2 separate regions of the Homo sapiens genome follow, and region 2 is linked to region 1. The links are contacts of gene promoters, found by promoter capture Hi-C in human tissues and cell types (Jung and others, 2019). All regions are on one chromosome and are shown on one strand. The core of a region is centred on a gene start or on the middle of the fragment in contact, and the rest is flanking DNA. Distances in the headings are between cores, read along the strand shown. Region 1 holds the start of COL1A2 (collagen type I alpha 2 chain). Region 2 overlaps VPS50 (VPS50 subunit of EARP/GARPII complex).

What was found. Contacts are between HindIII fragments. The study calls those that stand out against the background at their distance.
Region 2: a contact is called between a fragment that was not itself captured here and the fragment with the promoter of COL1A2 in region 1, in 1 of the 25 tissues and cell types used here (dorsolateral prefrontal cortex).

Annotation. Positions count from the first base shown.
Region 1 is chr7:94,391,564-94,398,063 of GRCh38, forward strand. COL1A2 (collagen type I alpha 2 chain) reads left to right here and starts at 3,332. Exons shown (of 52, transcript NM_000089.4): 1 at 3,332-3,538; 2 at 6,185-6,195. The coding sequence starts at 3,469. It overlaps COL1A2-AS1 (COL1A2 antisense RNA 1), which reads right to left and starts at 629. Exons shown (of 6, transcript NR_147206.1): 1 at 555-629. The HindIII fragment of the contact is 19,147 bases long and covers 1-4,726 here.
Region 2 is chr7:93,281,998-93,288,497 of GRCh38, forward strand. All of the region lies in intron 12 of VPS50 (VPS50 subunit of EARP/GARPII complex), which reads left to right. Among named protein-coding and RNA genes, the nearest start is that of VPS50, 53 kb to the left of the region's middle. The HindIII fragment of the contact is 7,220 bases long and covers 1-6,500 here.

The sequences.
Region 1 (6,500 bases), core at 2,082-4,581:
GACATCAGGGCCTCGTCAGGCTGTTCTGCATTTCTGTATTAGCCAGACTCTCAACCATTTTCTTGCCATATATAAACATGTGGCCCAGTTTGTAATCAGTGGGTTATAGGAAGCTAAAGAAATTATCTTTTCTTTCATAGAAAATAATTTGGGCATAGGAACCCAGGTATTAACCGTCTAGCACCAAAGTTGTAGGAATCTTTAGTCTCCTCTGCCTCCCTTCTTCCATCCCTCTACTCTCAGTCTTGACCCCACCCCACCCCTTACTTGTTTTTCCTTCTACTCATTTTCTCCTCCCTCCCTCTCCCCTCTCCCCACACTAGAACCATCAGGGCCCTCACCAGGGCATTCAGTTCAGGTTCTGGGTCAGCTCTCACAGCTCTACCAGTCCCACCCCCATCCCCAGGAAAAACTGCTCCTTATTTGGAGTCACAAAAATATTTAACAGAGATCTAACTGACCACTAAAAATTCCTCCTTTAAAACAAACACCTAATCAACTATTTTCCCCCAAGTTATATGGAAAAACAGCTGCAATTAGAACTTGATTCTCACTTTAAGAAAGAAAGATTCTTGTTTGGTTTTCTCCACTTTCATTTTTTGTTTCTAGGTCCAGGGCCTCCCACCAAATGCTGACGGCTGCCTGCTTCAAACCCTGCCACATCAGCAGGGAGGGAGCACAGCGGCATTTGGTATTTGCATCAGTTTCCAGGAATGCTTTTCAAGTTATCAGTTCACTCTGCTGCCTTTAGCAGAGACGTTTTCCCTCTAAGTTTATAGATGTCTGCTTCAATTTACAGTCCTCTAATTCTCAAAAACTTGCTGAGGATTTTTCTTTTTTGGCTAAAAGAGAAATTATAATCACACTTCTAAAAACATTCTATGTTTTAAACTATTTTGACAACAACAACAAAACCTACAATGAAATGTTTAAAACTTGGGATATCTATTGCAAATCCAATGATTGAGCCAACTTGACCCCAGAAGCGTTATCAGATAACCTCACTGAAGGGTATTTGGAGGGTTTCTTTCATAAATCTGTTGCATTACCACCCTGAGTCATTTTGCTCAGAATTAGTCTCTGACTCTCAGCAACACAGGACAAATACACACATATGCCCTGCAAAGGTAATTCAGCACAGTGGTAACAATGATTCTTAGAAATCATTTCTCACTCTTCTGATATGCAGAAAAAAATTTGTTATGATGTAGTATTGAAGTTTTTCTTTCCTGATAAAAATGATTTCCACTTTAAAAGTTTTTTGTTAGTTCTGTAACGGTGATATTTCAGGGAAATGTTAAAAATGTTCTTGGAATATACAATTCAACCTCAGGTCTTTTGTTGTTGTTGTTCCTAGAACCTAGAAAACTTCAAACATTGTTGCCTAGTTAGAAAAAAATTTGAATGTGGATTGCTCCCTGTAAACCCCCTTCTAGGAATGACCAGTAACCCTTTCAAATTCTTTCACTCCCAGTTACTTCAAAAAATCATCCAAAGTGGTCTCCCAAGTGAGTGCCTTTAATTAGAATAAAACAAGAGTTTATTATAGTTTTTGGTTATCCACTTTTACTTGCATTAACCTTTTTTTCTTCTTTTACATTTAGAAAGAGTAACCTGCTTTAGAATAGTCCCTTTTATTTACAGAAGCTGCTGATGGAGTTAACTTCTGCAGAAATTCTTCCTTAAGGCAAAGCAAAAAAAGCGGGGAGGGGGTGGGGGGAAGGAAGGGAAAAAGATTCTCAGGGAACTACAGCCCACTTGCTTCTGTTTCTTAGAGACAGAACTGACCTAAAGATGCCCCCTTTGCGATGACTTCTGGGATAGAGCAGCACTCTAACTAGGCCCCCGCTGCCTCATGGGGACCTTAGGCAAGTAGAGGAGAGGCCTGACACACACACACACACACACACACACACGCACACGCGCGCGCGCGCACACACACACACACAGCCTTTCAAACCTAGGGCCTGGAATGCCATCCCAAGAGGCTTTAGAAAAAGGCACAGGACCTTTGGCCTCCCACCTCAGGGTCAAAGTACCAGTTCCTCCTCTCCCTAGTAGGGAGTGGAGGGTTGGATGGAGGCGGCCAGAGAAGAGGGAAGTTGGGTGCTGGGGAGAGAGTTAACATCCACGTTGGTGGGCGCACTGCTTGGGGTGTTACCAGCGAAGACTACGAAGACCCCAAGCTCGAATCAGAAGGGCCTCTGGATGTGCTAGGGGAGGTGCTTGGGTGTGGCTGTAAGAGATGGGACAGAGAGTAAGCAGCAAGGTCAAGAGGGACCGGGGGGCTCACGGGAGGGTTGAAGGGTCCAGGCTCAGGGTAGAACTGGTAAATCCAGACAAGGAGCCCATGGAGAAGGGGAGGGGAGACTGGAAACCATGAAAGATCCCCCACCGCAGCCTCAGAAAGGAGAGACTGAGAAATAAGTTCTCGGTCTCCAGGTCGGTTGGAGTCGTGTCGGAGTGCCAGACCATCCCCCAAAAGACCCTCTTTGGAATGAGCCTCAGCAAAGGCAAGCTAGGAGGTCGAAGGACTTCCCCAGGTGACTCGGTCTAGTCTAGAGTTCGCAAAGCCTATCCTCCCTGTAGCCGGGTGCCAAGCAGCCTCGAGCCTGCTCCCCAGCCCACCTGCCAACAAAAGGCGCCCTCCGACTGCAACCCAGCCCTCCACAGACAGGACCCGCCCTTTCCCGAAGTCATAAGACAAAGAGAGTGCATCACTGCTGAAACAGTGGGCGCACACGAGCCCCAAAGCTAGAGAAAAGCTGGACGGGGCTGGGGGCGGGGTGCAGGGGTGGAGGGGCGGGGAGGCGGGCTCCGGCTGCGCCACGCTATCGAGTCTTCCCTCCCTCCTTCTCTGCCCCCTCCGCTCCCGCTGGAGCCCTCCACCCTACAAGTGGCCTACAGGGCACAGGTGAGGCGGGACTGGACAGCTCCTGCTTTGATCGCCGGAGATCTGCAAATTCTGCCCATGTCGGGGCTGCAGAGCACTCCGACGTGTCCCATAGTGTTTCCAAACTTGGAAAGGGCGGGGGAGGGCGGGAGGATGCGGAGGGCGGAGGTATGCAGACAACGAGTCAGAGTTTCCCCTTGAAAGCCTCAAAAGTGTCCACGTCCTCAAAAAGAATGGAACCAATTTAAGAAGCCAGCCCCGTGGCCACGTCCCTTCCCCCATTCGCTCCCTCCTCTGCGCCCCCGCAGGCTCCTCCCAGCTGTGGCTGCCCGGGCCCCCAGCCCCAGCCCTCCCATTGGTGGAGGCCCTTTTGGAGGCACCCTAGGGCCAGGGAAACTTTTGCCGTATAAATAGGGCAGATCCGGGCTTTATTATTTTAGCACCACGGCAGCAGGAGGTTTCGGCTAAGTTGGAGGTACTGGCCACGACTGCATGCCCGCGCCCGCCAGGTGATACCTCCGCCGGTGACCCAGGGGCTCTGCGACACAAGGAGTCTGCATGTCTAAGTGCTAGACATGCTCAGCTTTGTGGATACGCGGACTTTGTTGCTGCTTGCAGTAACCTTATGCCTAGCAACATGCCAATGTAAGTGCCTTCAGCTTGTTTGGGGGAGACTGGGTAGAGAGGTTAGATGGGAGGGCACCCTGCCCTGAAAAGGAAAACCTGTAACCTGAATTCCAGGTACACTTGGAGGGCAGACTCTCAGGCATGTGGGAAAACGCCGGAATTGATAAGAAACATGGAAATTACTTTAAAAAATGAAAACATAAAAGCCTTGCCAAAAGTTAGGGAACTTTTCCTCTAAGTTCAGAGTGAGACAGTTAACTCGGTCTGGCTCCTCAGCTTAGTAACCCCCAAAGGGAGCGGAAGGTCTTTTTCCCTAAGGATGAGATATTAACGACCAATGTGGTGGAGGAAGTCAAGGGCCTGCACCCCACAGGCCCCATAACCGCACTGATGTCCACCTTGTAAAACTTGAGGCCTGCGTTAGAAAGCCCTTCAACTGAGTAATGTAAAACTCACCTCCTAAGAGCTTTTATCTTCTGGGCATTGTAAGGCTTGTCCGGAGGAGGAGGATGACGATGCTGATATGATGATGGTTATAAGGCGCCCTCTGGAGGAAGGAAAATGAAAGTACAGGGGACAGGGCCTTAAGCAGATGGAATCCCAATTAAAGCTTCTACGGATTTATACAGATTAATGATCAGCATTTCTGGTTGGAGCCTTTCCCAGTGGCTAGTCAGTGAACCCTGGAAAGAAGAATGGATGCTACTTGGAGTGGGTACATTCTGAAAAGTAATATAAGTGTCTCAATTCACTTTCTAGTCATGGAAATGGTAACATTTTTTAACTCAAATCTGCTCTAAATTTTGTTTGAGCCTGAGAATTACCCCTTTGACATGTTCCCAGTGATAAGCAAACATTATGAACGCAGCAAGTTGAGAAATATCAACATTGAGATGAGACTCAAGAGACCGGGGTTTTTCCCATGAGTCTGACACCAATTTGCTGCGTGACTTTGGGCAAGTCAAACGGCCTTTTCTAAAATGTGAGACAGAGATTAAAGGGACCCCAAGGCCACTTTCCAGCTCTAGGTTCCATGGCCAGACTTTCATGTCAACAGAGAATGAAGAAGATCAGTCCGTTTTCATCTTGAAAATGGCTGCCAAAGTGCTAGACAAAGATATTGACTAGATGGGGGATGGTATTGTCTGACCACACCCAGTACTCCAAAAAGTTGTTCCACCCACACAGCACGGTGTCTACCACTGCATAATTTCTAATGCATTTGTGTGCTTGTGTGTGTGTGTGTGTGTGTGTGTGTGTCTGTGTGTCTGTGTGTCTCTTCCCCCTTCATTCACTTTTAGTATACATACTGTGGATACTAAGGAGTAATTGCAGTGAACAAATTCACATTACCGAGTTCATATTTTTAATGAGATCTTGAGAGTGGGAGGAAAGAGTCGGCTCCTAGAGAATAAAATGAAGGCAGACTTAGGGAAATTTGAAGGTACAAAGGCAACTTACCTTCTGATCAACAGCCAACCACAGTCTGGAATAAATGTTATCAAACACACATTCTTCAAAATGGTCCATGTCTGAGTAATTAAAAGGCAAATTTCCAAAATCATAAGGACTTCCGTTAATCAAGTCAGGCATAATTATTCTTCCTACTGATGGACACAATGAAGTAAACATATCATTCTTGTAATTTAACAGTAATTCTCGTAAATTGCCCTTAAATGTCAGTGCTGGATGTGGTCCACCCTCCTAAATTGTGACTGTTGCAACAGATGTTCTCACTTCAAATAACGCACTTCTTGGCCACCTAATTAAAGCAATTTTTGGGGTGATTCATCCTACTGCAAGCTTGGCCACACTTGTATCCTGTATTAACCTATAATTTTTGTACCGTAGGAGAAGAATTCACTCTTTAAGGACTTATAACAATTATGGCAAAAGGGGGGATAGTACTTTTGTTTATTTTTTCTATTATTTTTCAAGATCTTTAATCCGGTTTTTCCATTTATACAAAACTCTTTCTCCGAGACAAAAATGATACATATTGGTAAAATGATCTTACCTAATTTAAGTGAACTAATTTAAAGCAAAATTCAGATGTCTGAATTAATCCATTTTCATAGTTAATAATGTGCAAATTAGACCTTTTGAAAAAGGATATTAAGAATGGTACAAACTCAATGAAGTACTAGGTAACTTCAATGTTTTATAAAAAAGTAAGTCAGCTTCAATGTTTCATAAAAAACAAATTCAATATAGAATTTTAAGGTAACATACTTTCCTAAATTTTACCTTTTTTCGATATTTAGGTATTAAAAATGATCAAAATCATAAATTATTTCCTCATCAATCTACTAGTCTTACATTCAGCGATTCATCTGTGCACTTTACCAGCTTAATTGCTAAGCATTCAAAATATCCTTCAGACACATTAATATTTCACAACAGTTATAAAATAGTAAATAATTAATAATTTAATTCAAAATACATTTACATATTAATATTGCAAACAAATCACCCTGCTGATCCCTGCCATACTTTTGACCTGCATAATTTCTAGGTCATTAAAATATTCTTAAAAAAATATAATTGGTCCTTAATTAGGTAATTCAATTCTATAAACTTGTTTCTCTATTTGTTAATTATTGCTATTGATCCATGAAGTGATACTAATAATTGTTTCCTACTTTTTCTTTTTTTTTTCTACAGCTTTACAAGAGGTGAGTAAAACTTTTTTTAGAATTTTTAAAAATACTTTGATTCCCTTGGCTACAGTGATGTCTTCTCTTGGAAGGGAAGAAGTTACATTAATATTGACCATCCTAGATTCCCAAGAAAATTGTGAAGAATTATGATAGTCAAAACCTTTCTGGCTGCCTTAGAAAGTACCCACCCAATTTTCCAAAATAGGCGGGGCTACTGAATAAGACTAGGTTTATAAAATATTCATAAGAAATATAGAGTAAATAATCCAATAGAAGTTTGAGTTTTAGGATCAGCTTCTATGAAGCAGAAGATTTCACTG
Region 2 (6,500 bases), core at 1,880-4,379, 1.1 Mb before region 1:
ATCGAGACCATCCTGGCTAACACGGTGAAACCCTGTCTCTACTAAAAATACAAAAAATTAGCCGGGCGTGGTGGCGGGCGCTTGTAGTCCCAGCTACTCGGGAGGCTGAGGCAGGAGAATGACATGAACCCTGGAGGCGGAGCTTGCCGTGAGCTGAGATTGCGCCACTGCACTCCAGCCTGGGGGACAGAGCCAGACTCCGTCTCAAAAAAAAAAAAACAAAAAACAATTTTTCTATTTCAGTAAATATGCTACTTGCATAATTTTTAATGACCAAACGGTATTTCACTGTAAGTGATGCTGTGGATTAATTAACTGCTTTCCTGTTCTTGGATATTTATGTTATTTCCAGCTTTTGTCATTATGAACAGCACTGTAGTAAATATTCTTAAAGCTAAATCTTTGTGTACATCTTTATTTCTTTAGGATAAATCACGAGAAATGAAATTGCATTGTCTGTCAAAGCTTTACATTTTAAAGGCTTTTGGTTTGTCTTTCCTAAATTGCCCTATAAAAAATGGTATTTCAATTTACACTCCTGATCAGCAGAGTCTGCATTTATCCCTTTCCCTGAGCACATGAATGCTGATTATCTTTTATTTAATACCATAATTATCAGATGCCAGAGGTAGCATATCAAAAATAATTTGTGTTGCATATCAATCAGTCATGTTTGGGATGGTAAGGAGGTTAAACGACGTTTCATTGATTGTTGAGGTTAATTTGCTTGATGTGGTTGAATAGGTGAGTAGACCTTTCTTGCTGAATGCTACAAATTTGAATATTTGGTTGAAGAGAGAAACCTTTTCACTTCAAAGAATATTATCATTTACTTGGTTTGCTCAGGTCAGTTTCAGAATGAACTAAGAATTCAGCTGTCAGATTTATTCTTATCACATATATGGAGTGCCTAGCTAATTTTGTAGTATATAATTTTATGTAATGATTTCTAAATTAAGTAGGTTTTGATAATTTTTAAAATTAAAACTTAATGACCAAAAGGTAGGTAAGGAAAGTTTATTTGTTTCTTCCTTTTTTTTCTTGCCATTTTCTCTCTGGATCATCAAAAATTGTGAGGAGTCTGAAATTTTATTCTACTTGCAAATTAATAAGCTAGCCTGTTACTATTTCCTGGATGCTGGTAGAAGACACAGACTTCATATTCTTAGCACTATAACTTGTTAAGTGTAAACCAGTTCACTTGTCATTACTGAGCTTTTTTCTTTTTCTTTTCTTTTTTTTTTTTTTGAGGCGGAGTCTCCCTCTGTTGCCTGGGCTGGAGTTCAATGGCGTGATCTTGGCTCGTTGCAACCTCCACCTCCCGCGTTCAACAGGTTCAAGTGATCCTCCTGCCTCAGCTTCCCAAGTAGTTGGGATTACAGCTCCCACCACCACACCCGGCTAATTTTTGTATTTTGATTAGAGACGAGGTTTCACCATGTTGGTCAGGCTGGTCTCGAAATCCTGACTTCAGGTGATCCACCTGCCTTGGCTTCCCAAAGTGCTGGGATTATAGGTGTGAGCCACCGCGCCTGGCCTACTGAGCTTTTCTTACTCAGTCGTCAGTTTTCTTACTCAGTCATCAGTTCAGATCAGCAAGGACAAATAAGACTTTAAAGTAATAATCTAGTTAAGGTCACATTAATTATGATCAGAGGTAGAATAAGAAAAGGTCAAATGGCATAAAGTATCCAAGGAGTCAAAATATCTCTTTAAGGTTTGCAAGGGAGGAAAAAGTTGGGTCTTAGATTTCAACAGGCACAACAGGAACAGTGTGTGTCCAGGAATGGAAAGGAAATATCATGAGCAATGCCATGAGAGTAGGAAAGCACAGGGCAGGTGAAAGGAATAGTAGATTGTCTGGCTTGGTTTAACCGGATTTTTTAGTATGGTGGTTTGGTTGTTTCTAATGCACCCAGGGAATAATGAGTGCCTATGGAGCACATGCTTTGGGTAACCATTTATCTGAGTAACTAGTGTTAACTGTCTTGGCTGGAAGTGGAGGGGTGTTCCAGGTCTGGCAAGGCCTCTATATTGTTCATGTCTAAGAACTCTTAACATTATCAATGTAATTTAGACTGCTGGATGATTTTTTTAGGGAGGGGGATTGGATTGGAGATAAAAAAGAGCCAACCTATCTTTATATGGTGGCACACAGCTTCCAGCAGAAAGAAAAAATAATTTACTAGTGGGAAACCGTTTTTGGGCCACCTTGCCCAACAGGAAACCATTTTTGAAACCTCCCAAACACCTGATTATTTGATAGTGTTTTTATATTTAAATACTGCCTTTTTTTGTGTGATCTCAGGCAGCGTGAGGGTTAATAGCATCTTATAACTTGAAACTTTGAAAGATAATTATATATTCTGATTATACATACTTTGCTTGTTTTCTAATATTGAGCTGTCTATTTGATTAAGGCCATTTAACAGCAATTAGAATAACCTGCCAACTAAAGAAGAACTTTTTATTTCACAATTTAACGGGTGCTAGTTACTTAATTCCAAGTTGGGATTATTTATATCATACATATTACATGTCTTATGTGTATATACATATTTAGCATTAATGATAAAATGCCGTAGATGAGAATGAGTGTTTTTCTCCCCGATTATATTTGTTTTTAAATCATGAATGAATCCAGTGAGTTGCAAGGAAAGTTTTGCTAAAAGCATATGCATATTTTTGTCTATGGAGACTCATAGCTTTTAAAGCTTCAGAGGGACTCTAGGAGATTTGCTTTAACCCTTGGGGTTTAGATACATGAATTGCTATGCAGGAGTCATGATCAAGTAAGTGACAAAGTTGGGCTCCAAGCCCAAACATGTTTCATCTAGTTCAGTGCTCTTTCCACTATGCAGTACTACCTCTCTGGTTTCCAATGGCTGGAAACTTCTTAAGATAATCATATTTCATACAGCTAGGCCCTCACAGAAGTAATTAGATATTGGAGTAATTAAATATTAGATACTGGCTCAGACACTTCCATAGGTCCAGAGTTACCCCCAAAGATGTTTTCAACTCCCTGGGCCTGGTGCTGTTTTGACCAGCAGCATATTTTCAGAAGCCACTCAGATAAGCAGGATTCTCCCCAGCAGCTTCTGATGATGTGAGCTCATAGTACTAACAGCATTCATCTAAAGATACTGATAACCAACCCTTTGTTGTTTTTTGAAATCCATCTATCACTGTGTGTGTGTTTTGGGGGGTGGAGGCACTGGGAATTTTGGATCTCTGTGAGGATGCCAAAACATCTGTTCCCTTTATGTTTGTTAGGATGTGATTAGAGTGCTAAATCAAAACGTGGAATAAGAACAAAATAATTCATTACAACCATCCCTAAGACTTTTCATTTTGATGCTCTAATATAAAAAGCATTACTTTGAAATTTTTGTAGGGATTTAGTAATAGAGATTTCTTATAAGTATTAAAGTAAATTATAGAATAAAAAGCAAAAGACTAGCAGCTTTTCCTCCCGTATTTACTACTTTACTTTGCATTTAAATAACTTTCAGAAGATGACATTCTTTTATTGTGTGCTTCAAACTTATAAAGGCTGCTTATATTAATTTCTGGATTTACACTGTTCTTTGAAAATGGCCTCAACTTATATTTTATAATCAAGACTGAGATGTTGCTGGTTTTGATAAGCTAGTTTCATCATTTTTATTTTAACCAGGTAGGTTGGCTGAGGTGGTTAATAGAAGAAATGGAAGGTGCCAAGTGTTACTGTGAACTGACAGTGATAAGAGATGGGAAATCAGATTTGTGGATTTTGTGAAAGTGTTAATCAAAATTGGATTAAGGAATGAATTGTGGCGTTGGAATGTGAAGCATAGTGGAAATGCTGTGAGCTTCTTGCATGGAACATCCAGTTTCTTCATCTTCTCCAAATCCTTCCTCCTAGGATATTTGTTTACCTTTTATGATCGCCAAATTTATTAGACATGTATGTTGTCTCTGTTATAGAGTTTATGGATTTTTTTTAAATTAGGATGGTTAAAATTTCCTTTTTTTTCTGTGCATTTCTTGGGATATTTCCCAAAGATTATATGCCTATTTTATCTTTTCCCCTCACTTTACAGTCTTTGCTAAATAAATTGAAGCTAATAGCTTTAAGTGGAAGAGTAGCAGTGGAAAATAGTTTTAGAACACAGGGAAATATTTGGTAATTAAATTTCGATTTCTTATCTATTCTTAAAAAAATTTCAAGATATGTTATTTAGCTCTTGGGGATGTCTTACTATGTGAATATTTTGTAAATTGATTCAATCAATACTTTCATTGCTATTTTCCATATGTGATGTGAACATAGAACTGGGATTATAATATGGTGCTCCTCTGCTATGATATTCCTAGTATTATGCCAAATGAGTCTCCCCTTCACCTGAACTGAGTTTCAATGTTAGGTATTTAGTAATAAATGAATGACTTCAACCAGTGATGAAATAGGAAGATACAAGTATCTCTAACACGTTTATGAAAGGTGAAGCTGAGAACCAGAGTGGTTTATTATCTAAGGCATGCGACTGTAAGTTTGTGGAACTAGTGCCAGCTGGAATCCAGGGATTCCAATTCTTAATTTAGGTCTCTTTCCATTATGCTCTGCAGATGTGAAGAATTGATGCTTGGGTGGAACACTCAGGTTCCTCTTATTAGCCTGCCTTTTATTTTTTGATTACCTGTGTAATTATTTGCTTATTCTCTGGCTTCATTGAATCTCTCTGGTTATGATTCATTCATGTCTTTGTAATAAAATTCTCGATTTGAAATTTGGAGGTCATTTTTATAAAGTAGAAAATACTAGTTGCAAATAATTTTAGTTAAATGATGTTAAAAGCATGAGAAGCATTTGTCACTGTGACAATTGACACCAGTTGGTTGCATGGCATAATGGAAAGGGGCTCAATTTTAAAATGAAATAACTCTTTTAACTTATTGCCAGTATAACCTTCAGAGATTAACATAGCTGGGCTTAAATTTGTTGAAAACGTTGTTTTTTTTTTTTTTTTAAAAAAAAAACTACCCCACCTTGCCTTTTTTCCTTAAACTATTTATTGTATATGTATTTAATAAAATGGTCTTTACGTTTGTTCCTTTTTTAGAATATGAACTTAGGCAAGAATCATCTTGTTTGCTGGTGCTGCGTGTATCATAGTCTTATGTTTGTACATGTGAATATATTTGAAGATAATAAATTTGGGTCCTTTTGGGAGACATTTAGGTATGTGCAGTGGTTTAGCTAGATCTCTGGATTATTTACACTTGAATCAGTTCAGTGAGAAGAAAGCCTTGCTATAGCTTCACTAAGTAACTTTAACTTTTTATGAAAAAAAGATTCACATAAACATCTGTGTGTGTATATCTCATCCAAACCCATTAAATTTCAGCAAATCCTCAAGAGATAACATAATGAAGGACCTCTTTTTTTTTTTTTTCAAATAAATAGGCATATAATGAGCTGGACAGTGGTTGGGTGGAAAATAGAAGATAGTAGGTTTAAGTTTTAATTTTCTGGTTTGTTAAACTGTGACAAGTATAATAGAAATTAATTATAACACAATTATTTGTACAGTCATAATTTTTCTTTGGGAAAAAATATGACTAACATTGCCTTTTTCTTATCTACCAGAAAGAATGTTGAGCTATACTTAGATTAAATTTGTTTGCATAATATACACATTTATGCGAAGTTGGGCTAATAAAAGTTAGAACTACTGACTTGTAGAGGAGTACCTTTATTTGGGTATGATTGCTGAGTTGCAGCCCAGAACTTTTTGGGATTTTTGCTTTGCCTTGTTCTTGGAAAAGGTTTTTAGTCTTTTCTTGACCCTGTGCATTAGTATTGGCTTTCGTCATATGTGTATGGTGTAAGAGGTATGTCAGGTATAATTTTGTGCTAAAAATAAACCAAGTGTATTAGTCTGTTCTCACGCTGCTAATAAAGGCACATCCAAGACTGGGTCATTTATAAACGATAGAGGTTTAATTGACTCACAGTTCCACATGACTGGGGAGGCCTTACAGTCATGGCGGGAGGCAAATGAGGATTAACGTCTCATCTTACCTGTTGCTGGCAAGAGGGCTTGTGCAGAGGAACTCTCACTTACAAAACCATCAGATCTCATGAGACTTATTCACTATCATGAGAACAGTATGGGGAAAACCGCCCCGCCCTTGACACATGGGGATTATTACAACTCAAGGTGAGATTTGGGTGGGGACAGACACAACCAAACCATATCACTAAGGGAAAACATTAAGACTGGCTCATTGTAAGGGTAGCGATTATAGAAGTAAATGTGAGAGATTACCCAAAATTGTTTTTCACAGCTGCAAAGTACTCTTTTGTATGTATGAATAATGTTCTACCAATCTCCTGTGTTTGGACATTTAAATATATTTCAGTGTTTTGCAATTACAAATAATCCTTTAATAAATAACATGGTGCATATGTATTTTCACATTGTTTGAGGTATACCTTCAGTATAAATTCCTAG